Linked DNA regions of Homo sapiens: all the other regions are linked to region 1. The links are contacts of gene promoters, found by promoter capture Hi-C in blood cells and fetal thymus (Javierre and others, 2016). All regions are on one chromosome and are shown on one strand. The core of a region is centred on a gene start or on the middle of the fragment in contact, and the rest is flanking DNA. Distances in the headings are between cores, read along the strand shown. Region 1 holds the start of GRID2 (glutamate ionotropic receptor delta type subunit 2). Region 2 overlaps CCSER1 (coiled-coil serine rich protein 1). Region 3 overlaps CCSER1 (coiled-coil serine rich protein 1). Region 4 overlaps CCSER1 (coiled-coil serine rich protein 1).

Evidence for each region. The method cuts DNA at HindIII sites, captures the fragments that hold promoters and counts their contacts. A CHiCAGO score of 5 or more calls a contact.
Region 2: a contact is called between a fragment that was not itself captured here and the fragment with the promoter of GRID2 in region 1, in 1 of 17 cell types (M2 macrophages). The highest score is 5.3, in M2 macrophages.
Region 3: a contact is called between a fragment that was not itself captured here and the fragment with the promoter of GRID2 in region 1, in 3 of 17 cell types (M0 macrophages, M2 macrophages and M1 macrophages). The highest score is 6.5, in M0 macrophages.
Region 4: a fragment that was not itself captured here is called in contact with the fragment with the promoter of GRID2 in region 1 in 1 of 17 cell types (M2 macrophages); the score reaches 5.7 in M2 macrophages.

Annotation. Positions count from the first base shown.
Region 1 is chr4:92,301,668-92,307,900 of GRCh38, forward strand. GRID2 (glutamate ionotropic receptor delta type subunit 2) reads left to right here and starts at 2,299. Exons shown (of 16, transcript NM_001510.4): 1 at 2,299-3,077. The coding sequence starts at 2,990. RefSeq lists a silencer at 3,831-4,125. The HindIII fragment of the contact is 7,809 bases long and covers 1,919-6,233 here.
Region 2 is chr4:90,358,639-90,364,871 of GRCh38, forward strand. All of the region lies in intron 3 of CCSER1 (coiled-coil serine rich protein 1), which reads left to right. Among named protein-coding and RNA genes, the nearest start is that of CCSER1, 230 kb to the left of the region's middle. The HindIII fragment of the contact is 2,451 bases long and covers 2,007-4,457 here.
Region 3 is chr4:90,415,275-90,421,507 of GRCh38, forward strand. All of the region lies in intron 4 of CCSER1 (coiled-coil serine rich protein 1), which reads left to right. Among named protein-coding and RNA genes, the nearest start is that of CCSER1, 290 kb to the left of the region's middle. The HindIII fragment of the contact is 252 bases long and covers 2,920-3,171 here.
Region 4 is chr4:90,453,929-90,460,161 of GRCh38, forward strand. The region is part of intron 4 of CCSER1 (coiled-coil serine rich protein 1); the gene reads left to right. Among named protein-coding and RNA genes, the nearest start is that of CCSER1, 330 kb to the left of the region's middle. The HindIII fragment of the contact is 4,193 bases long and covers 743-4,935 here.

The DNA of each region.
Region 1 (6,233 bases), core at 1,049-3,548:
CCCTGTATAGAGGCTTTTAGAATATATTACAGGCTGTGTCCCAAACTCCAGAGATTCTGATTAAATTAGCCTTAAGTGACCATTTTAAAAAGCTTCTCAGATTATTTCAAAGTGAATCTACATTTGAAAACTACTAAACTGGAGGATTTGGGAATAATGAAAATGCTTTGCTCACAGTACACTAAAACATTTCCAAGAGGGGAAATAGTATGAATATGACTATACAATATTTGACTTTCTCCAGGACAGATACTCATTAGCCAGGACTGGACTAGTTAATGCTCTGAAGTTCTTCCTAGTTATCTTATTCTAAGATATCATGGTGTTCTTTCCATGTTAAATGGTTATAATTTTTCTTGATAGAATACATAATGACTTACCAATTTTTAGAATGTCACTGTAAATAATATTTGAAGGAAGCTATGGGGAGTGCATCTCTTCTTTCAATTCATTATCTGAATAAGCAAAGTATAATCTATGGAATTGCATCAAAACACTTTATAAAGTAAAATGACATTAACACCAACATTAATATAATCAATATTGAGTCAATGTCTACTAATGGAAACAAAAGATAAGAGAATGATCAAAATTGAGAGTAATTAATCAGTGAATGCTTCTTGGAAGCACTGGTTTGTTCCAGATTCAGAAGGAAGTGATGAAATTCAAGTCAACAAAGGGGTTCTCTGTAAAATGCTGTGTTGAATAAAATGTGAATGAGCTTTGGTTTTCACTCTCAAGGCATTTATGATCTAACTTAGTAGTAGTTCTGTCTAACTCTAATACAAAATAGGGTGTGTTACGACAGCATAGAAGATAGATGGATTTATTCCACATTAAAGGACTGGACACTACTTCATGGGCAAAAGGAATTTGAACTAGCCCTTGAGATGGTGAAGGAGAGTGGTTGGGAGGACAAATACGTGCTTTCCAAGCAGAAATATTAACATAAGTAAAAATATGGCAGCAAAACATTTTCTGGAATGTTCAGGAAAAAGTGTACAAGATGAATGAAAACAGCCAGAAGTGAGAATGTACAACTGTGTCTGGAAAAATAGTAACCCAATTCAGAAGGCTAGAGAGAAGGGCTCAAGTGAGGGAACGGGAGGAAAAGAGGTTTGCCAAACTTGGAGGTAAGGCTTTGAAAGGTTGTGTAATGAGCTTGACATCCACACATCCAACATTCCTAAAGAATTCCAATTATAACTGAGACAATATTATGACATTAATACCTGACCTCGACTAGTCACTCGATTGTGTTAACAAATCTTCAGTTTGCAATGAGGCCAGATTGACATAAGTCAATCATTATAAGAAAAGAAGTCACAATGATCAGGATTTTATCTTAAGGAATAAGCTTGCAGAAAATCCTTTCACTGGAGACTGAGAGGCTGTCATTCAGGACTTCCTCAGCTTTTTCCATGGAAGAGAGTACCCAACTTCCTCATTCGGAATTTATCTACATAGGTTATTAAGCTACTCAATGAAATATTTTGACCAAATGTTTATGAAAAATTTTTCTGTTTTATTTAATTATTCTGCTTTTTTATTTTAATTTCAAGATCTTTTCTATCCTGATAGAGAAGAATTTCTATCAATAGAAAGGATTTCAGGAACCTTTCTCTATCCTGATTGCCTAAAAAATACACTGGAGACAGAAAAAAAAAATCATTGTATAAAAGGTAATTAGCACGTTCTCTCCTTTTTATAACTTTATAATTGAAATCTCATTAAAAGCTTTCTAGGTCTGTATTTCCCTAAGTGACCAGGTGTCCCTAATTTGTTTTCAACCAATGTGACTAATTCCAGGCAAAGACTAGAAAAAGTCTGATACCTGTTAGAGAATAGCAAGGTTAAATAAGTGGGGTGGCTTTTTTAGGTTGCATTTAACCTCGTAAAATAAAGAAAGGAAAAAAAAAGCTTCAATGTCTTTTTACAGTCCTGCCTTTTTCTCAGTCCCGGTTGAAGATTCCATGGGAAATGAGAGCACTATTTTGTTTCTCCCTTGTATTGCAGATAGGGGGAGGAGGTGGTTATTAGAGAGAAGCTCTTCCTCTCTTGGTTTCCCCCTCTCTCCGCCTGACAGCACCGCTCTCTCGCAGGCTCGCTCCTTCTCCTAGGTGATCCATTTCTAGGCAACGTGGGGCTGGTGCTGAAGCTGCCAGGCTCGCTCCTTGCTTCCTGCATCCCGCCAGGCGAAACGCTCCAAAAGCATCCTGCAGCCTGCGGCGGCTTCCCTCCTCTGGCCCGGCCCCGCTGCTCGCGCCCGGCGCAACCCCCCCGCCACCGCGCCCCAGCAAACCGGCTCCCCGGGCCCGCCTCGCCAAGCTGCGTTCCGCGCCTCACGCAGAAAGGGAATTTTCTCTGCATTACTATCTGCATTACCTTGAAGTTCACTTTTTCTACCCCTCTTGGAGAGGGCTTTTTTCCCCCCTCCCTGGTGGAATCTGGCTGCTCCGTTTGGAATCTCCTAATCTTTCCTTTCCACTTAGATTCTGGCAGCGAAGACCAGTGATTCTCTGCGGGCTGTAGGGGCGGGGGCGGGGGTCTTTTTTGGTCCGAGAGGGTGCGGGGAAGGGGGCACATCCGGCGTGAGGGGGGTGTTGGAAGTTGCAGCGGAGCTGGGACCGGAGACCCGCGGCCCCCGCGCAGCGATGGGTCTGATCTGAGCCCCAGCCTCTCCCCCTGCCCAAGAGCAGTAGAGGCTGGATATATTTTTCAAAAGCCAAACTGCAAACAACTCTGGCGATGCCAAAATTCCCCTCCAAGTGACACGGCTTTGCGAAGGAGGTTTCCTCAGGCTGGGCTCTTTCTGTCATTCCCTTCTGCCTTTCTCGGCGACGATAAAAGGCTTTGCTCTGGCAATAGGAATTTAGAAAAAAAGAAAAAGCTGCGCTAAACTCCACCGTGACCTCAAACTCTTTGGACTGTTTGAAAAAAAAAAAATTGGAAGAAAATCCATCCTCCAAGAGAATCGGCATAGGAGGAGATGGAAGTTTTCCCCTTTCTCTTGGTTTTGTCCGTCTGGTGGTCTCGAACCTGGGACTCGGCGAATGCGGATTCGATCATTCACATCGGTAAGAAAGTGTTGGTGCAGCTCGTGGTTACTTTTACCGTTTCAGTTCTCAAATGTTTCCCCTTCGCTTTCCCCCTCTCCGGTCTCTGTGTGTCTTGTTGGAGGTGGCTTCAGTTCATTGCCCCTTCCCGCTACCCTTCCCTCACACTTGCTCAGTTTTCTGAAAGGATGTGGATGCTCGAACCTCGACTGACTTGTGCTGTTGTTTTGCAGTGATTCGTGGAATGTGGCTGGATGCGTGGGGGTCTCGAGTTGACCTGAGTGTGAGTGTGTGCTGGGAACTGCAGGGGGATTCTAAGTGTGTGGGGAAAGGGAGTTTAATTGACTCTTATCTTCCATATTTTTTTTCCCGGATGTACATTTGCTCCATTTAAAAATTTATCTTTGGGGGAGCAGAGAAGCTGTCACCTGTGAGATGAAAAGAACTGGGCTGGGGGGTAGGGGGAGCTCCCTTCGGATCGAACAGGTGGTTTTGCAACGTGAGCCGGCTGAGTTCGCCGCAGCTTAGTGCGATGGTGACGGGGGTGCCGGATGCGCCCCCAGCCACCCTCTCTTCTCACATCTTCTTGGCTTTATGATCCTTGCGTGTAGTCTTTGAGACGGTGGCAGGAGGGGCTGGCGGCAGTGTCGCCAAGGACTGATTGTCGCGTGCCTCGCCTCCTCGGACACGCTCCCGGGGCCTGGCGCGGCGGCGAAACTGACCCCGGGGCGCTTGGGAAACGCGGGGAAGCGAATGCGCGCAGGCTGCTCCCGAGGTCTGCTTAGCAGATATCCGCCTTGCCTCGCCTCGCCTCGCCTCGCAGTCAACTCCGAGTAGCCGCGCAAGGCAGACAGCGAAGGCGCCGGGACTACTGCGGGCCGCGACTCTGAGAAGGACTGCCGAGCGGGCTCCGAGATGCTGGTGGCCCCACCTATTGGCAACCAGACGGGCCGGGACTGGCCGCGGCGAGCAGGGGCGGGCGGGGGGCTGCGCGTCATTATCATGCACAGCGCTCGCAGCTTCAGGCTCCAACTCTACTCACTTGCTAATCCGTGAGAGCTGAGCGGGAGACAGGCTCTTGCAGCCTTTTCTGCGTTAATGCGACGATTTCTTTTTCGGAAATTCGCTTACCGAGCCAGCAAGGTTTCTTTGCTGGGCTGCAGAGAGGTCCCTTTGGGGGAATTTTTCTGGGCACAGGACTTTTATCTGTACGCATGGCTTGGTGTTCTGCAAATTGAGGCGACAGATGGGTCACAGCTTCTCCCCTTTCTGTACCCCTGCTTCTCCACCGCACAACACGCATACACATACACACACGCACGTACACATACTCCTGGTAGGGGAATCTGCTGCAGGTGGCGATTGTGCCCGCCCAAGCGAGGGATTTCTGTCTAGCGTGCGCGCCCACAGTGGCCAGCCCCTCCGCTCCAGGGGGCTCCCTCTCTTGGTCTCAGAGGCTGTCTTTGTAAACATGTCTGCCATTCTCTATCATTTATATCAGTAGAACTGTCTGTCTCTGTGCAAGGGGTAATGAGGTCAGGATTCAGAAAACCTAGCGTTTGTGCATTAAGTAAGTCAAGCACTAATAGCTTGCCTGCTGGATCCCGTTTTGCCTGGGGGCTAACAGTGCCTACAGATTCAGAACTTTTCAGCAAGAAATTATGGTCTCATTGAGTGGTTCAGCAATGTTCTGATAGAGTTCAGAAATGAACTATGCTCCTTTTAGAGAAATGGCATACATTTATATCTAGTTGTAAATGATTGGAGCAGGAATGCAGATATATAATCATAATACCTTTATATTCATTGTATGATTAGGGATTTCTGATGTAGGCTCCTCATCTCTCAGGAGGGAAAGCCTGTGGAAGAATGCTTTTTTTAAATCGCTTATTCTGTGGTCTGCATGATAAATACATTATTTACAAATACCTACAGCTTTTGCTATCCCTTACTAGTTAAATATTATTTTGCAATGCAGTCTGGACATCTGTTTCAAAATAGAACAAAACTGTTGTATTTTTTAGTTTGTATACTGTTGTCTGTCAGAGTGGCTATAATCACATTTAAAAATTAACTGTGTACAAATTACAGATTTCTTTAGAAAGTTGGTTGTATACATTAACTGTGTATATCCTACTAACAGATATAGTTACTTCTGAGACAATTAATTTGACTTGAATATAATTAGTACATTAGATGAGATAATTAGCTGTTTTATAGACTACCTAATATTGTCATGAGGCTAGCAAATTGTTTCAAAAACTTTATCTTTTATAATATATCGAAAAACATTAACTCCTAAATTAAAAAAATAAAAAATGATGACGGGTAGTATGTGTGTAATTCAGTGCCTCCACCCCTACTCTCAGCAAAAGTATAGTAAATTCAAAACCGAATGTCCATATTAAAATTGTAAAGCACCAGTTAACATGAATTGGATTAGTTTCCTTACTTGTTTGAATAGGAAAAGAATTAATTTTCTTTAGGAGGTGTTGCCTTCATTTAAATATTTAATGTGAGAAATATGTTTCTGGGGAAATATATTAGTTCAGGACTGAAGGAATGAATGTGATGAAACTGGAGGGAAAGGGAATATTTCACCTCTAGCGATGGAAGGAGATATGCAGAAATGAAAGGTTTTCCCAGCCTCATGTGATGTGTTCAAGCAGAAAGTAGCTGCAATATGTAGTTCAGGCAAACTGGAAAGATGAAAAGACACTGCTCTAAGAGGCTTTTTATATATTGAATTATTTTGGTATTGAACCAACTTATATATACATGAAAATCATCTCCTTCTTTCTCTCTTTCTCTTCAGTTTTTACCTCATGCCGGTAGTTTAATAAGGTCAATTACACATTTTAAACTCTAATATGTTTTGTTAAACATATTGATTCACTACAGTGATGAAACATAATGGTTAAACCATAATGATTGAAATGAAAATGTATTTATTTTAGTCAAAAATGCACAATTTTATGATTACTTTGAGTTTCAAATATTTAAAAATATTTAATCATTACGTATATTTTTAATACACATCCACACACAGATACACAACCATATAGTATTTAAAAATGAATCACTTCCATTGTGATCTTCTTTGCCCCAATTAAAGAAAGGTCTTTTGACATATAAAAACTATGCAATTTTGAATTATGCTTCTACTTTGAGCCTATG
Region 2 (6,233 bases), core at 1,982-4,481, 1.9 Mb before region 1:
AAAATATGAGTTATATTATTAAATATGGTATATTTGATGTTTTGTGAAGATTACATTTGGGGGAGAAACAAATATTAAACCTTTGTAACAAAATAAGCTTAGTAAAATGTCAGTATAATTTGAGTTAATAAATTGCAAACAGGCATCAGGGAATTGTCATTTTTGACTCTATTGGTTGGGATGCCAGTTATGAATGCTTAATCACAAACATCAACAAATATTCATTCATTACTTTATAAGGCACTTAAGTCATTGTAGAGCATGCCAGGAATTATAAATGATCATTTCATCCATAAGTTACTCAGAATATAGTTGGAGATATATTGACTAAAATTCATGAAAAGATACTTTTAAAAATGTGATGACAGTAATCTGGTGTCACATGGTATCATGTATCCAACTGCCAAATGAACATCATAAGGCACGATGTGTTACGAATTCAGAGAGAAGATATGACAGGCCTAAATGTTGCTGAAAGAGATTAACAGAAGGGGTGATAGTCTAGTTGAGCCTGAGCAATAAGTTTTGAATAGGAACAACAGAAAGAAAAGACCATCCAGAGAGACTATTGTTAGTCCACAGTACTCAAAAAGGGGAGTAATGTTAATATAGCAATTTAAATAAAAATAGTATATGAGAATGCTTTCAAAATTGTAAGCTAATATAAAAATGAGTTATAACTGTGTACTTTTGGAAACCATTTTTAAATTCAGTAGAGTATACCTCTTTCATTTATTTATTTGCCAAAACTAGTAGTTTACATACTGAGCATATAACCTCTGGAGCATGGCTTTTAGAGTACATAAAATCAGTCCTCTGGGCAGGGCGCGGTGCCTCATGCCTGTAATCCCAGCAGTTTGGGAGGCTGAGGTGGGTGGATCATGAGGTCAGGAGTTCAAGACCAGCCTGGCAAGGATGGTGAAGCCCCATCTCTACTGAAAATACAAAAATTAGCCGGGCGTGATGGTGGGCACCTGTAATCCCAGCTACTTGGGAGGCTAAGGCAGAGAATTGCTTAAAACCAGGAGGTGGAGGTTGCAGTGAGCCGACATGTCACCACTGCACTCCAGCCTGGGCAACAGAGCAAGACTCCATCTCAAAAAAAATAAAAATAAATAAAATAAATAAATCAGTCTTATCTATGGTTTTATGGTAGATAACTTGTAAAAACTTTATATATAGATATGTGTATATATATGTGTATATATATGTGTGTATATATATGTGTATATATATGTGTGTATATATATGTGTGTGTGTATATATATATATATATGTATATAATTTTTTTTTTTTTTGAGACGGAGTCTCACACTGTTGCCCTGGCTGGTGTGTGGGAGCAAGATCTCGGCTTGCTACAACCTCTGCCTCCCAGGTTAAAGCGATTCCCTGCCTCAGCCTCTCGAGCAGCAAGGGTTACAGGTGCCCGCCATCACGCCTGGCTAATTTTTTGTATTTTTAGTAGAGACAGGTTTTCACTATGTTGGCCAGGCTGGTCTCGAACTCCTGACCTCGTGATCCGCCCGCCTCAGCCTCCGAAAGTGCTGGGATTACAGGCGTGAGCCACCGCGCCCGGCCACAATATTCTTATAATAAAAAAACATCCACGGCCAGACGTGGTGGCTCACGCCTGTAATCTCAGCCCTTTGGGAGGCCGAGGCGGGCGGATCACGAGGTCAGGAGATTGATACCATCCTGGCTAACACGGTGAAACCCCGTGTCTACTAAAAATAAAAAAAAAATTAGCCGGGTGTGGTGGTGGGTGCCTGTAGTCCCAGCTACTCGGGAGGCTGCTCGGGAGGCTGAGGCAGGAGAATGGGGAGACTGCTCGGGAGGCTGAGGCAGGAGAATGGTGTGAACCCGGGAGGCAGAGCTTGCAGTGAGCCGAGATCACGCCACTGCACTCCGTCCAGCCTGGACGACAGAGCGAGACTCCGTCTCAAAAAAAAAAAAAAAAAAAAAAAGCTTCCACATGGGATGCGTCCAAGGGAGCTTGGAAACGTAGAAGCTTCGTCGTTCTTTTATGGTCTTTGTCTGGTGAGGTTTAAGAGTCCATTCTGCAGAAAAGAGTTGTTCATGGATGTATTTCTGTCAACATCCATTGGCCTAGCTGATCATGGTCAATATAATGCTTCATGGCCAACATAATGCATATGAATTACCATACGGTTAAAGATCACCATATTTTCAAAGAAAAGATTGTATACCTTCTGATATAAATTAGACATTTCAAGCAGTACTCAACTTTAGTTTATTTTATAGTGCACAACTTTTGTCATAGTATTTTCATTTACTCTGAGACCATAATAAAGATAAATAAAATTGAATGATTTTTATGATATTAATTTACATAATTTACAATGGTACATCCATAGTTCATTCTGTCTAGGTAAAGGCTTTAAAGGACCTGTAGGTGACATTATCTAAACATACTTTGAGTCTAATTTTCTCAAAATGAATCAAATGTTGTTTTCCTAAGAAATGACAATCTATATTTTTTCATTCCCAATGATAGGCACTCTTTAAACATATACGATGGTTTCTATAGTAGTAGAGAAATAGTTTATGATAGTAGCTAAAAAGTTAATTATTAATTTACCTCAGGTTTCAGCAAATAGCAGGTTCTCAATAATTATTAGCAACTATTGTGAGTGGTACAAATCCTACTGCTCTCCATGTTGCTTCTGCTCCACCTCTCCCTCTCTATTTCCATTTGTTTTACAATATCTAACTAAAATAAAATTACAACTTACTTTCTTCTATTTGTCCTTTTTGACTATTTCTCTGGGAATTTTAGATTATGTCCAAATTGGACAAGAAGGCCTATGCCTCAAAATTGACTTAGAAAACACTCTTTTTAAAAAATTTTAAGTTTTATTTTGGGTTCGGGGGTATTTGTGAAAGTTTGTTATATGCATATATTATGTGACACTGAAGTTTAGGGTGCAATTGAGCCTATCACCCAGGTAGTGAGCACAGTACCCAATAGGTAGTTTTTCAGCCCTTGCCCTCCTTTGCCTCTCGTCTAGCAGTCCCCAGTGCCCATTGTTGCAGTCTTTATGTCCACATGTACCCAATGTTTTGCTGCCATTTTTAAGTGATAACATGTGGTATTTGGTTTAGAATGAACAATTAACCAATATTATGGTGGAGCCAAGGGATAATGGGAGACAGTTCTCTGTGAGTCTCTTGTGTTTCTGCAAGTCTTGTAAGCAGAGGCACTGACTATCTTCAACTTCAAACTACCTTTCCAGGCAAGTTTATATAGGAATGTCTGTTTAGAAGATATATACAGTTTCTTTCTTGAGCAAAAAGCAGGTTGTTCACTCTCCACTATAATAATGTGTCCTTCTAGTGCAAAAGTCAGGCAGGCTTACTTTCTACGTTAAAAGATTCTGAGTCTCAAGCTCAGGATTCTTCTCTTGTGTTACCTTAATGAAAATTAGGGCTCAGAGAACCCAAGCAAATACTGACACTCTGGTTATTATTGTTGCCATGAGTAGTAAAGTTCTTTGACTCTCACACAGGGATCTTGTGTCTTATGTCAACATGCATGAAATTATTTCATGAAATTTAAATTTTGGACGATAATACTGTCATGCATGGTAAAATCTCACAACCTTTACAGTTCTTGATAGGGTGTAGGGCAATAGAGAAAGTTTTGGTGAAAAACAATTCAGAATGCCAAAATGACATGCTGAAGGTATTTAATATAAACTTATACAGTTAAAATTACATCCAGAATTTAAGAAAACATTTAGTGTTTTTCATATATCACCACAAATGTAAAAATGATGCTAGTCAAATGGTTTAGAAGCATTAATCAATACATAAATTCTTTCCTTTAGAAAAACCAAAGGCTAGGTGTAATTGAGAATGATCACATATTGATTTCTAGCTCTTATTCAAAATCTCATTTCTTCAGAAAAGGAGAATATTGGAATATTAGAATGGGACCAAATTAGTTAGAAAAGAGTCCTACCCACATGCTGCCTGAATATTTCTTTCCTTTTCCGCTGGCTTCTCCACTTTTCTTGCCCTGATTCTGCAGAGAGGCTACCATAGCCACAGACGTCCCTCTGTGTTTTTGATCCTCAGTCTACTCTTCTTTGATTTGCCAGGAGTTTCTGGTAAAGCAGAAAGGTATCATTCCATGGGCTACATTCTGATTACAATGAACCAGGCTTCCTCCTTTGCAGTTAACAGTATAATATCAATAGTTTCATACAAGGGATGCCTTTCTAAGTTGTGTGAGTACATTTATTTTGTCAATCTGTAGACTTACAGATTTGCTCTTGGATAATTGCAAATTGAGTAAATTTATATTATTATTTAGAGTGAATATGGATCTGGGATATTTATTTATTAAACATTTAATGTTGTACTGACATGAGCTTATCAGTATTAAGTCATTAATCCACACAATAATTCTGTTATCCCTCTTTTACATTATAGAAAGCTTACCTAAGATTATACAGTAAAATATGGCAAAGCTGAGACAAATATGAACAAAGGAACATAGAGTCGAAATAGCTGTGGTTCCTGTTTTCTAATTTTCTACAAATTCTAGATTGCTTCTCTCCTTGTCAATTGCTTATCAAGCACTTGTCATAGTATTTTGTAGTCATTTGATTTTGTTGCCTTCTTAAAATAAATAGTACGCACACTGACACCAAGAATATATTTAATTTTTCTGTTAAATTTGTTTTTCTTTCATTTTTGCATTGCTAATCCTGAAGAGAAAATCATAGACTTTTTGACATATAATAGTTGCCACATAAATTGGTGAATGAATATCACTGTGGCACCTAAAGTACACCAGATCTGTTGGGGGGTTCTCTTTGTTTTATATTTCCTGACTTTAAGTGCACTCATGTGTTTGAGAGTTTTATTCTAAAAAGACTACTTATCCAAATGCAACTTGGCTGCCTACCATGATTTGGCAAATAAAGACTTTCAAGGGCAGAAAGAAAAAAAAAATCTTAAGATTATTTAATAACAGCATGTACCTTCCAAAGAAGCTAAAGAAAATTGTCAAGTGAAACAGAAAACTGTGACATTATTTTATTAAAATATGACCTACAGTTTTAAACTTAACGTATCTTATAATTTTATTTTTCAGTAATTGTATCCATTTCATTTTCCCACTCATTATTAGAGCAGAGCCTTTCTGTAGTGGTCTGATGTTGCCAGGTAGAGTGTGGAAAAATTTTCCTATAGATACATGTTCATTCTGCAAAAAGATGGGATTATATTCTGTAATGTAAAGTGAATATTTATGCTTTTGTGGTATCCCATAAAAAATGTTTGGGAACAACTTTGCCTTTTTAGCTTTTGAAAATGAGCATTTTTTTATGTGAAAGTTTGCTTTATTGTTGGAAAGCAAGAGCAAGAAAAAAAAGTAGGAAATGATTTTGCTTTAGTAAATTGGGTTTACCAAGTCTTTCTTCTTCTCTTGAAACATAGTGGGAGGAGAGAGCTTTATATTCAAGCTAAAAATAATCTTTGGGTAACACCTACATTTTTACCCTGAAATAGACAATAAAATACATTCCCAGGGACTGACCATAAAGGGGTGTGGGGAGTAGAATACTTGAGCCTTTTCAAATTGTCTGTCTCTCTCCCCCAAGTTCAGGAAACCATCTGTCTCCCTCTACTCACATTTTTCCCACTAACTGAATCCTCTTTATTCCAAGGATTAAGTTCAGTGTCTTTAAATAGAAAAATGTGGAGATTTTATGAATTGCCAAATGAAAATGAAAGGTTCGGAATCACTAAAATTGATGGTGTTCTGATTTTAGAAGTTAGAAGAAAATTGCAATTAAAAATATGATATTCAACTTATTCATTGGTGAAAATATAAGCTATGGAATAAAATGTAAAGCCAAATATATATTTATCAAAAATCTGCTTAAACATTGTATAGAGTTTATATAATAAAAAGCATTAAAGTAGTTTGATATTTAAAAATATGTAGTCAGTTCTACTTTAAATTGCATTTTTATTACTATGTACTCAGCCCTAATTCACAAGTTGGGGAATATTAATGTTTTGTGCCTACCAGATTGATTGCTGTAAAGAAGACAGTTAGTGTGATGATGTAGATATTAAACAAAGTAAAAGGCAGTTAATGCCTGAAAATGGGAAGTTCTTAAATGTGGAGCTCACACTGAAAAGAAAAACATAAAAGAGAATCTTATAGGTCAAAATAAAATTTTGAAAATATGAAACAA
Region 3 (6,233 bases), core at 1,796-4,295, 1.9 Mb before region 1:
CTTCAGTACAAGCTGAGACATCATGCTGCCAGTTCAGTATTAACAGTTCTAAACGGTGCCACGTCAGTGTGGCAAAAGCTTGGAGCCTTATAAGGAACGTACTTAATTCAAAATAAAATCGATTAACTTTTTTTATACTTTGTATTCCTCAAATAATTTCAATATGGAAATTAGGTAAAGTAAATATTGTCAAGAATTTTAGTCAGACAGAAAGTAATTACCATAAAGCTTAATAAAATATCAGATATTAAGCAATGTTATTTCCTGATGAATCCTCTGAAATGAGCTGTTGATGAAAGATAACCACTGGGTAACAAATAAGACAATTTTGCAAATGGCTGTTATCAAATAACTGGTTAAATATTAAGCAATGCATATTCTAAATAAGAATTTGGGTTTGTGTTTTGGAATACTTAATCTTTAGCTATTTAATCCATGGTAAACTAAAACAAGGTCCTGTTTCTATTTCGGCTACTCATAGGATTATCTTCGTAGTGGCAGAAGCTGATGGGAAATATGCACCTGGGTAATGAGAGTGATGCATCATAATTAAATGAATTAAAGTTAAAAGAGGGCTAAAACACATTTTAGTGTTACCCATTTGGAGTATATTACTTACAATACTGTTTCTTTAATTCTTACCCTGACTTCTGTGTTAGTACTGGGGTAGGTTGTACATAATCATTGGCAATTTATAGCTGGAGATCTCAGTTGATGGGAGTAGAACTAGCAGTGGCTTCAGGGTAGGGAAATGGAGAGATGATCAAAAGATACAAACTTTCAGTTGTAAGATGAGCACATTCTGAGGATCTAATATACAGCATGAATGGTGAGGGATGTGTTAATTAATTTGTGGCTATCACTGCACAATATGTACGTATATCAAATCATTACCTTTTTTTTACCTTGACTATATTCAATCTTATTTATCAATTAAATATTTTAAAATTCATAAAGTTAAAAATAGGTTGATGGAAAGGAAAATTGAATGCCTATAATGAGCCAGTCTCTTTTTGTAAACCCTCTCAACTTAATCCTCACAATAACTCTGAGAGAAAATTGCACCTTAATGATTCATTCAAAATAAAGAAACTACAAATTAATATCAAAAGAGAGCAGGCATTTTAAAGATAGGCATATCCAAGTTAGAATTCCAGCTCTGCCCACAGTTGCTTTCAACAAATGATATTTCTGAGCTCAGTTTCCTCATTTGTAAAATGACAATAATTATGTCTGTCTCAAAATATAATCCTATCTAAATGAGTGACATGCAAAGTTCTATTCTCAGTTGCCCAAAATAGGGTAAGAGCCCAGTACAAGTTGGTTACCATTCTTGAAATTTTAGACAGTTTTAATTCCTTGTTAAAGACGTTGTCCCATTATTGGTTATTTTTTGTAGACCCTAGTTTCTTAATGTTTTATCATTATTATAAATTATTTTAAAATGTGCTTTCTGATTTAAATGTTATTATCTAAATTTTATGTAACATTTTAAGTGATAATTTACTAGTACTAAATATTCAAAAATCAAATAGGACACTTTGCTTATAATAGGTGGTATATTTCTTTGTGTTAAAACCAGTGCATTTACCATAAAAAAGAATGAGTTCATGTTCTTTGCAGGGACATGGATGAAGCTGAAAACCATTATTCTTAGCAAACTTAACACAGGAACAGAAAACCAAACACCACATGTTCTCACTTATAAGTGGGAGCTGAACAATGAGAACACGTGGACACACGCAGGGGAACATCACACACCAGGGCCTGTCAGTGGGTTGGGGGCAAGAGGAGGGAGAGAATTAGGACAAATACCTAATGCATTCAGGGCTTAAAACCTAGATGACGGGTTGATAGGTGCAGCAAACCACCATGGCACATGTGTGCCTATGTAACAAACCTGCACCTTCTGCACATGTATCCCTGAACTTAAAGTATAATAAATATAAAAAAAATTTAAAAAAACCAATGCATTTAAATGCATGAACTTTTTTTCTGGTTGTTAGTCAAATGTCCAAATTGCCATAGCATATTTAAAATAGAAATTTATTTGAAAAAGAATAAATTTCTATTTTAAATACCTTAAAAATTATTAACCATTAATATTAACCATTAATCATTAATACTCAAAGAGAAATTATGGCTGTTACTTTGTATTAAGGTTGATATTTACAATTTGCAGAAGAGTTTTTAAATTAAATTAAAAATATATCTTACTTATTTAATGTTTTTGGATAAAAAGAATGTAATGGTCATTTGGATGATAGAATGAAGATATTTTATGTTGTTTTGGTTATTTATTTAGTATATTAGATCTGAAAACACCTAGGGCAGTGTCTCTTGGTATATATCCAAAGGAAAATGGGGAAGTAATGGCCCAATGATATCAATGAGGAATTAATTGCGTAGTTGCTAAATTATTTTGAGTTTGATGAACAAGCAATATAAAAATTCTGCAGTGAGTTAGGAACTCCTCCTGTGCCTATTAATTAGGGAGATAATTTTTGTTATTAATTTTTAATGAATAATAGTACAGCAGAGCAGAGATGAAACCCTAGTGGTTTTCCTAATACGAATGGTAATGTACAGAGAATTGCAACAACATTCACACAGGGAAAATTATAGAAATCAACTATAAATTTCTACAAGCTCTGATGTGTCTTGGTCAGAAAAAGTGTGTCTAAAGTATTTTTAATCTGATTATATAAAACTAAGAAACATACAGCACTTAATTTTTGAAGTATAACATAATGGTTAAAAATATGGATGCTGGCTCTGGAATTAGACAAATCTCAACCACCAGCCAGGCTATGTAAACTTGAGCAAGTTATTTAATCTTTTGCAGCTTTTCTTCTTCATCTGAAAATGGGCGCGATGATGTATCTACCTCATAAATTTGATGGAGAAACAATAAGTTAAAGCTTTGTAGAATATGCAATCTCATGTCCAGCATATATATTTTTAAGAACTACTGCTAATACCATTTTAAAAATATGCATGTAAAATGTGATATACCTGTATGTAGGCCAATCAGCATCTGATTCTGACAGATTTAGTGATCTTTCCAGTCTCTATTAGTGGAAAATCTTAACATTTTTAAATATAGAATTTCTCAAATTTTAAGTATAGAATGCCACAGCACATGCAACTAATTTTTATCATTTATTTCTAAGCTTATAAAATTATAGCACTAAATAAAATAATGGGATAATAAATAATATTTATTGAGTCTAGGTGCCAATTTATGAGGTAAATAACATCACTTTCTCATTTGAGAAAGTTGGAGCTTTGAGTGATAAAGCATTATAGGAATAAATATCCCAGCTAGACTCAAACATGGTATTTCTGACTCTGAGGCTCTGTAATTAGCCATTTTGATTCTGTTGACTAATAAAATTAATTCATGTAAAATGTTAAAATCACATGTTCACTGAAGCATTTGTTTTAAACTGACCTTCTGTTCTAATAGCTTTTTAAGTTATGGGCATCACTTAATATATATTTGTCTTTGACTTCACCTAAGAAGTTGGAATTAACTATGTTTATTTATTGAAGCATATACATTGTGCTGACCACTGGCCTGGGCACTTTGTTGTTTCAGGTTTTGCTTTAGTTTTAAGCTATAATTTCTAAGCATTTTGGATTATCTAATTTAATCCTCACAGCAATTCTCAGAAAGTGTTATCATTCTCTCTTCATAGATGAAGGAAGAGAAACCCAGAAGAGCACTGTTATTTGTGCATGATTACAGAGCTATTCTTGGGTTTCAATTATGCCTATGTGGCTTTGATACCCACTTACTGTTTCCACTATAAAAGCTCTCAATGATGTTTAGTTACTAGAAGGAGCAGTTATAATAGCGTTTCCAAATTTTCTATTACACTACAATTTTGATAACACTTTAGTGAGGATGAAATTGTGATCTCAGTTGTCACTTTGTGTGTTTCATCAGCAGATCCTATTACTCTGTATTTCTACTTCAAAAGGGATACAATACCTGTTATCTGCTTGGTTGCCATTAGATGGCAATCTTGTTCTTCTAACGATGATAGTAATCCTGTCATACATTTGTATTCAGCTTTATAGTTTACAAGCTATTTCAAATATGTTATCTCATCAAATTATCACAGTAACACTCTGAAATAGATGTTAATATACATCAAGTACAGTGGAGGGAGCAAATACTCTGGTTAAAGAACTTATTCAGCCAGTATTAACCTAGATCTTAACATTAAATGGCAGTTTCTTTTAACTGTTTTTCTAGACCTTGATGCTTCTAATTTTATGTACAGTTCTAATATACTTGGTTATATGTTTTCCAAGGCACTGAAAATCATAATAACATCTTAGAAGAGGAGAGAGAAGAGGAGAGAGAAGCAGCAGGGAATGAAGTATTGCTGTATTACAATGTGGCACACCATTACTTTTTAAAAACTATTATTGTAGTTCTTAATCATCAAGAAAAAATACATTCTGCATTATTCTGAGATGGAGAGCTGTATAATTCACTTTGGAAATATATCTAAACTCTTATTTATTCTTTAATTTATTGAATGAAAATAAACCCTCAGTTCTTCATATGCTTTAACTATCCAGGAAGTGTCATTTTATAATGATTCCCCATGGCAAAAATGTGAATATACCTTAAACTTTTTATATGTTTTTTATGTTTTTCCCCATATTCTTTCCCCAGGTTCTTGCAAAAGACTACTTAGATATAAGGATAGCTGTGCGAAAGGCTTTCCTAATTGTCGTACTTGAAAAAGCAGTAATTTATAGTCTACTAATTGAGTATGGGGACCATGATATTCCTTAAACACAAGACTATATAATTATCGATAATACATTTTTAGTGTAGATATTTCAAAATTTAATATTTTTTATTAGCTGTTTTTGCTCGACCAATTTACAAATTGACCAATTGATTAATTCATTAGTTTGATACATTCTTTTACACTCCCATTAAAAAATATTGAACTTATTAATTAAAATAGTAACATTCACCTGGGTGCACTCTTTTCATACTCTGTGTTAAATGATGTACTTAAGTGACAGAATAATGTTCTAACTGGGAGAGAATTTTAGAAGTAGAAGCTCCTCCTACTTCTTCTCCTATGAATATTAATAGTTTTAAATGTTTTGTTCAGGGTCACATAGTTTGCTTGTAATAAAGAGATGACTCTTAAGTAAGAAATTGACTAGCTCCATGTAGTAAGATGGCAATTATTTGATTTTTATGGTAGTTGCCAACAGACTAAATCATTTGCATTTCCTGATTTAAAAGTGCTTCTGCCTATCTATTTTGCCTTTCAGACTTTGCTATATTTTTAAGAGGATTGCTTCAGTGACAAAGAAGGCTTTTAGATGGAACAGTTTTCTAAATCCAATCAACAGTAGCTGAAAAATGTTTATACATCCTGACCTAATTTAGTATTAAATAACAACAATTTTAATGAAGTCATAGTATTTACTTGTAACCTGCTATTGTAGCATTTCCTACTGACATAAACTCTCTTCTGCTGCACAAAAGGGCAGTCAATGGCCCAAGTTCATTAGAGGATACAGTCAAAAGAAAAGATGTATTTCATTCGGCATGGTTTTTCTGGTGCAATTAGAAAAGAAAATATGTGTCTCAATATAAAATTTCATGGCCTCTTACAATTATGTGGTGACATCTCCATACAATTGCTTGAATAATGCCAGGAACATCAGCTGTCACTATCAAAATGAACAAGTAATTAAGAAAGCAAACGCTGGTCTTTCTTCTAAAGGAATAGAATATTTATGTATTTAAAGTTGTTCACCAACAAGAAAAATAACCACTGACATGAAACATAATTTCCTATCGTGCCTGAGGCAGAAAAGAGAAATAATAATGAAGATTCACACAATTACAACAAATTAGGTTGCAATTGTGCATACTAAAAACAATTATAGACTTTCTATTCATCAGGTCATATGATAGCATCTTATCTCTTTTATTTATTTTCTGATACTCTATCTTATTAATCACATTTTCTAAAAGCTTATGATGGAATTGGGAAACTCTTACTCTTATCAAGACCACATTTTCTGTACCCTTACATCATAACGTGCTAGCATAACCTAAAGTAGGCTAAGCCTTGTCTGGATAGTAGAATGATAGTAGATCTGATTGAAGCCATAATAGTGTTAAATGCTGGCTCTTCAACCTTTTGATAAGACAGTGTTCAGTTTATTGTTTACTGAGGTAA
Region 4 (6,233 bases), core at 1,589-4,088, 1.8 Mb before region 1:
GGTGGTCTGGACCACCAGAGCCAGGTAGAGGAGCCCTGGGATGTGTGAGTCCTGCTGGACCACTTGAGAGACTAGCTCTGGACCTGGTGACCTGTGTCTCTGGGGATAGTCTTCCCTCCAGTGGTCTCCATTACCTACTGGACAGGGTCAAGGTGGCTTTCTCATGTTGCCTGGGCAGTCTTTCCTGAAGTGCCTTGGCTTGCCACATTTGTAGCAGTTAACAGGTACATCTAGGGGACTCTGGGGTTTGTGAGCCTGCAAAGAGTCCATTAGAGCCTCTGCCTTTTCTTTTGTTTCATGTTTTTTTTTTTTTTTTTGGATTTCCTCCTGATCCCTATTATGAAAGACCATGGTGGCCAATTTCAGGAGGTTCTCTAAAGTACTATCTGGTCCTACAGCCTATTTTTGCAGCTTCCTTCTGATGTCTGGGGCTGCCCGAGTAATAAACTTATCCTTCAGGTTCAGTTATCCTTCAACTGAATCAAGAGATAGAGAGGTATGCTTTACCAAGACCCCTTTTAGCATTTCCAGGAAGGCAGTGGGTTTCTCATTGAATCCCTTTTCTATCATGTTTAGCTTGGAGTAATTAAGAGGCTTAGTTCTAGTCCTTCATAAGCCCTCCAGTATGCACACCTGAGAGTGTTTCCTCTTCCATTCTCCCATTTCATCATTGATGTCCCATTTATTATCCTCCAATGATACTACTATTCTTCTAATTGGATTGGCACTCTATGACATACAAAGCTTATCCCCCAAATTATCTGCTGCTTTCTGGGTGGCCTGCTTTTCCACAGTAGTCAGGATCTGATTCAAAAGTAACATAATGTTCTTCCAGGAGAGTTAAAATACTTGGGTTAAATTCTGGAAAGCCTCTATATGCAAATGTCAGGGTCATTTGAAAACTTGCCAAGATCTCTCTTAATCTGCCTTAAGTTCCGTAGAGAAAAGCAAATTTGGACCTTAATGAGACTATATTTGCCAGCCTGTTGTAGGGGCAAAAGTGCCTAAAACTAAGATTTCTAGGATGGAACAAACTTAGAGAGAACCTGGATAAGGGAAGTGGAAGGAGATGATTCCCCCAATGGAGGTACCTCTGGGGTTTGCTTCTCTATTTCCCTGGGATTGCCCCTTGCAGCCTTTTCTGAAATTGCCACCAGGAGGGCAGAATCAATCCTACAATGTTGGCAAAGGTCCGAACTTCCCTGCAAGGCAAAGAAAGTCTGCACATGTGGGACTTCAAACCATTTGCTCTCATGTCTACAGAAAAGTTCCAGCTTCAGAATGGTATTAAAATTAATACTTCATTTCTGAGGCCATGCTTCTGCCTGCAGAACATAATTCAGCCACACCTTAGTGCAAAGGAATATAAGGCAGATTTTCTCCAGAGTCTGAGTATTAAGGAGTCCCAGGAATTCAAGATACACTCTAGAGGAGTATAGGTTAAAGATGGTTGTTTACCCTTCTGGAAGAGAGAACAGAGGAGGAAAAGGTGATTTTTCTTCTCTCCAGAGTCTGAGGGTCAAAGGGGTCTCAGTGATTCAGGATGCAGTCAAGAGGAGTGCAGGTTGAAGATGGTTGGTTACCCATCAGGAAAGAGGGGTAAAAAGCATCCCTTTGTTCCTTTCTCTTTCCAGCAAATACCCAGGGTAGGTGAGGCTAAGAAAAAAGGGCATCCCTTTCTTTCTTCTGACCTTATATCCCTAAATCCCCGTGATCTTTGCAGGTGTTGACCATGTGTGCAAGTGTGACTTCACCCATGAGGTGGGGAGGCATACCCAACAGGAGTATTCACACCCACCTATATGGTGCCTAATCCTCCTGCTTTTGGTAACCTTTAAATTCCCTAGACCTTATCTATGCCATGGGTAGGAGGATGACCTCCATCCACGATGCAGGAGGGCCTAGTTGGCAGGAGTTAGTCATGCTCACCTGCGCCGTGCCCCCTAAACTTCACTGTCATGTGCCTTTGGATCTCTCACATCTAGTTTTTCTTTCTAGGGCCTCAAAACTAAACTTGGGACAAAAAAATGCCTCAGGAGGGTGTATGGACCCATTAAATTAGTGGCCTCACCAAATTGCAGCCAGAAACTGGTGGGGCAGCCCATCTCTTGCTTCCTTATTATGAATAGGTGAAGCTGTGGGACCAGGTCCTCTGCAAACAAGGGAAAGAAAGGGAGTCCTGGGAATTGGGGACCTGGCCTAACAAGATGCTTCCCAAAAGAATGATTTAAGTTCAGGGGTGGGGAAGGTGCCTGGGGAAAAAACCTTTTGCCCTGTGCAAATGGGTTCCTTCAACAGGGGAAAGAAAACTCTCAATTGTTACATCCTTCTTGCTTCTAAGAATAGATAGACATCACATTGTTCTGATTTACACTTCTGATGACCAAGCCAAGTGCTTATTCTACCCGGTATTATTATCTCTGTACTTTGCAACAACACCCTTATCATTGTATATAAAGAAGAGATAGGAGCCACGACAACCTTGAAAGAAAGAAAGAATGATAGGAAAGACTGGAGGTCCTAGTGCTGACACCCTAACAGGCAGTCGGGGACTGGAGTTAGTTCAGAGGCCTTTGGATAACACTGAGATATAGCCTCAGCCAGATACCCTCATTTGCCCCAGGACCTCCTTCTGATCCCACACGATGGCTAGACCTCCATGAAGGGAAACTGGATTGGAACAAAGCCAACATTCCCAACACCCAAGGGTGATGGGGGATTGGCAGTGTCCTCCCCAGCAAGCCTGTCCTCATGTCTTAAGTCCAGCAGCTATGCTAGTCACTTTCAACTGGCCAAGAGAGGCATGGCATTTTTCTTTCAGTTTGGTTGTAGTGGAGTTTAGGGATTCCCCAAAAAAGGACAGAAAGCAGCAAGTTTGCTTTTACTCACCCTTTTGCAGATCCTGGATGAGCCCCCCAAAATGTCATAGGATCCTCAGGGTGTTGCTTTGCCAGCTAGAAATCTCTGTGGCTGGTGGTGCCTTTGCCCAAGTTTTGCTCAGGACCACTGGACTTGATTTGCTCACTTGGCCTGGCAGTCTGCACTCGGCTTGTACTACTGGCTCAGATCCGATGCCTGCCAATGGTGAGCCAGGCATGAAGCGGTGAGGAGTGTGTAAGCGAGCGATCCCAGGGTCCGGCCACTGTGTACAACAAGGCACACTGGCTGGGGCTGGCGGGCTGCTCCAGGTGCTGGCACAGGTGCTGGTTCCCTGCGAGGCTATGGCTGGACCAGGTGTACCGCAAGTGGCTTCCACTGCAGGCACCAGGGAACACTTTGTCACCCAGCAGCTTGGAGATCCCAGGAACTGCAGAACGCCAAATAGCGTGTAAGAGCCCTGGCTCAGGGAACTCTTAGAGCTGAACTCCCCAAAGAGCCTCAACTTTTCTCTCCTCTTTTCTCTCTTTTTTCTTCTCCTCTTCTCGTGCTCACAACATGCTGACTAGGGGGGCATGTTTCAGCCCTGTTTGTGCCATTCAGCAGGTCCCAAGTACTTGTCTTGTTTCCAGGAAGAATGAGGTGCGTGGGCAACTGCAAGGTGAGCAAGGCAAAGAGGTGTTTTATTGAGCTACAGTACAGCTCTCCAGAGACCTGAAGTGGGTAGCTTCTTTCAACAGGCAGATCATCCAGATGTCTGTTCAGCTCTCAGCTGAGAGAAGACCCACAGTGGGTAGCTCCTCCCCACAGGCAGGTTGTCCTAATGTCTCTACAAATCTGGCTGAGTCCAGGCTTTTATGGGCTTCAAAGAGGAGGAAGTGTGTGCTGATTGTTCCATGGGCGGCCATGGCTGGGCCCGGAAAAGGCACCATAATTTTCACTCTGCTCCAAGCAACTGGCAGCCTGGCACCCAGGCTTCAGGCCATCCCTAGCATAAAGGTGAGTCTTCACCAGGGACCCACCTCTTTCCACCCAGGAGCCTATCTGCTTTCTGCCATCATCAACCTGCCATCCACAGCCTGCAGACCCATGCCAACCTTCTCTTTGCCGTCCCTCCCATGCTTATCAGCACCCAATGTCCAGAGGGGCTCGAGACAGCAGGGTTCTGGTGTGTCGGTGCCACCCTGAGCATGTGCATACCCAGCAGGGTCATGGCCGTGCCCAGGCTTTGTCACAACTGTGCTCCAAAATTGGAGAGGGCACCAGAATCAGGGAAATTTCAGGCAGCAGGAGCCTGCTGAGATCAGGGGAATTCCTGGGCCCTCAAGAGCTCAGGAATTCCTGAGTCCATAGCCGCAGCTGGTTTGCTGCGGCTCTTAGGAGAGCCCCTCCAACTTGTAAGGGGGCAGGGCCTCCACCTGTTCCTCCTTCCACCTGCTCCATGGAGTGCACCGCCCCAGCTACACCTCCCACACTGCAACCAGCATCTTCACAGCCACCACTCCACATGGACCACTGCTGCCATCTTTAGAAAATAGAGTCTGCCACAATAAGTTTTTTTTTTTTGAGATGGAATCTTGCTCTGTTGCCCAGGCTGGGGTACAGTGGCACCATCTTGGCTCACTGCAACCTCCACTTCCTGCATTGAAGCAATTCTCCTGCCTCAGTTCCTGAGCAATTGGGACTACAGACATGTGCCACCATGCCTGGCTAATTTTTTTTTATTTTGAGTAGAGACAGGGTTTCACCCTTTTGGCCAGGCTGGTCTCGAACTCCTGACCTCAGGTGATCCACCCACCTCAGCTCCCCATATTGCTGGGATTAAAGGCGTGAGCCACCATGCCTGGCCTTGCCACAATAAGTTTTAATGGTCCTGCCAATATTAAAATGAAATCTTTAATGAACAACAAGTCATAAACCTTCTATGTGAACTACTTAGAAGGAGCAGACTACAGATGATGATGCCATTCTAATATTATGTGTGGAATTTTTGTCAGTGATGAAGGACTTCACAGACCTCCAGTGGTGCTAAAGTTCTTACACATCGCTTTTGATGGAAGCTTGAAAACCACTTAACCTAGGTAGCATCTTCTGCTCTAACTGGTGGCTGTGCAATGGAGAAAATGCCGATAAAGTTTTTAATAGCTAATTTATCAGCAATAATAATTGTTTGTGACTCTGTTCTTTCTAATGCTATCTATTGTATGCATATGTATGTGTTTATAGTATATATTATATATGTTATATATGCATACATGTGTATGTATGTGTATCTACATATATAGATAGTGTATGTGTGTACGTATATATAGATACAGATATAAACACAGGCAAATTCTTACAACTATACACGATCTAGTTTTAAATACACTAAAAGCTTATGTCACATTGGGAAGGAGGGAACCATAATGACAAGGTAACGTATTTTCCAGCATTAGAATTATTGAAGTATGAACTGGACATCTGTCAGAGATATTTGGAATGGGAGAGGATAGGAGTAGTAGCAATGTAGATTCAGCCATTAGGTGGGAGTTTGGAGTAGAACTCTGAGATCTTTTTATTTAATTATTAATATTAGTAAAAGTAATTCTGTCCCCCTAAAATGCTCTTTAAATTAGTTTGCTAGGGCTGGCATAACAAAAGGTATTATTGTCTTGGTGGCTTAAACAACAAACATTTATTATCTCACAGTTCTGGAGGCTAGAAGTTCAAATTCAGTGTGTCCGTAGAGTTGATTTCTCCTGATGGCTTCTTTCTGTGTCTCTAGACATCTTCTCCTGATGGTTTCTAGATGGCTTCTTTCTGTGTCTTCGATGTTTTTTCCACTATGTCTGCCTGTGTTGTAATCTCTTCTTCTTAAAAGGGCACCAGTCGTACTGGATTAGCGCCCACCATAATGACAATATTTTAACTTAATTTTCTATTTATTAAAATAAATGACACTTTATTCATAATTTGTTTTACTTTACAATTAGTAGGGACTTTATAAATGCTTATTTCATGTTTGACATTCAAGAACACCATTGGCTATATCAGCTTATATTTGAAGTGAAGGACACTTTTTTGCCAGCCCCAAACATACTAAAGTGTTTTGAGTTTTAATAATAAGATAGGTAAGCTTACAAATGGAGTTCATAACTTTTGCTATTTTTCTCTATCACTTGTGAGCTTTCAATTTTATTGTAGAAAAAAATTTCACAACGAAATATTTGTGAAAAGAACTATTCAAAAACTAAGGCGGCCGGGCGCGGTGGCTCACGCCTGTAATCCCAGCACTTTGGGAGGCCAAGACGGGCGGATCACGAGGTCAGGAGATCGAGACCATCCTGGCTAACACGGTGAAACCCCGTCTCTAC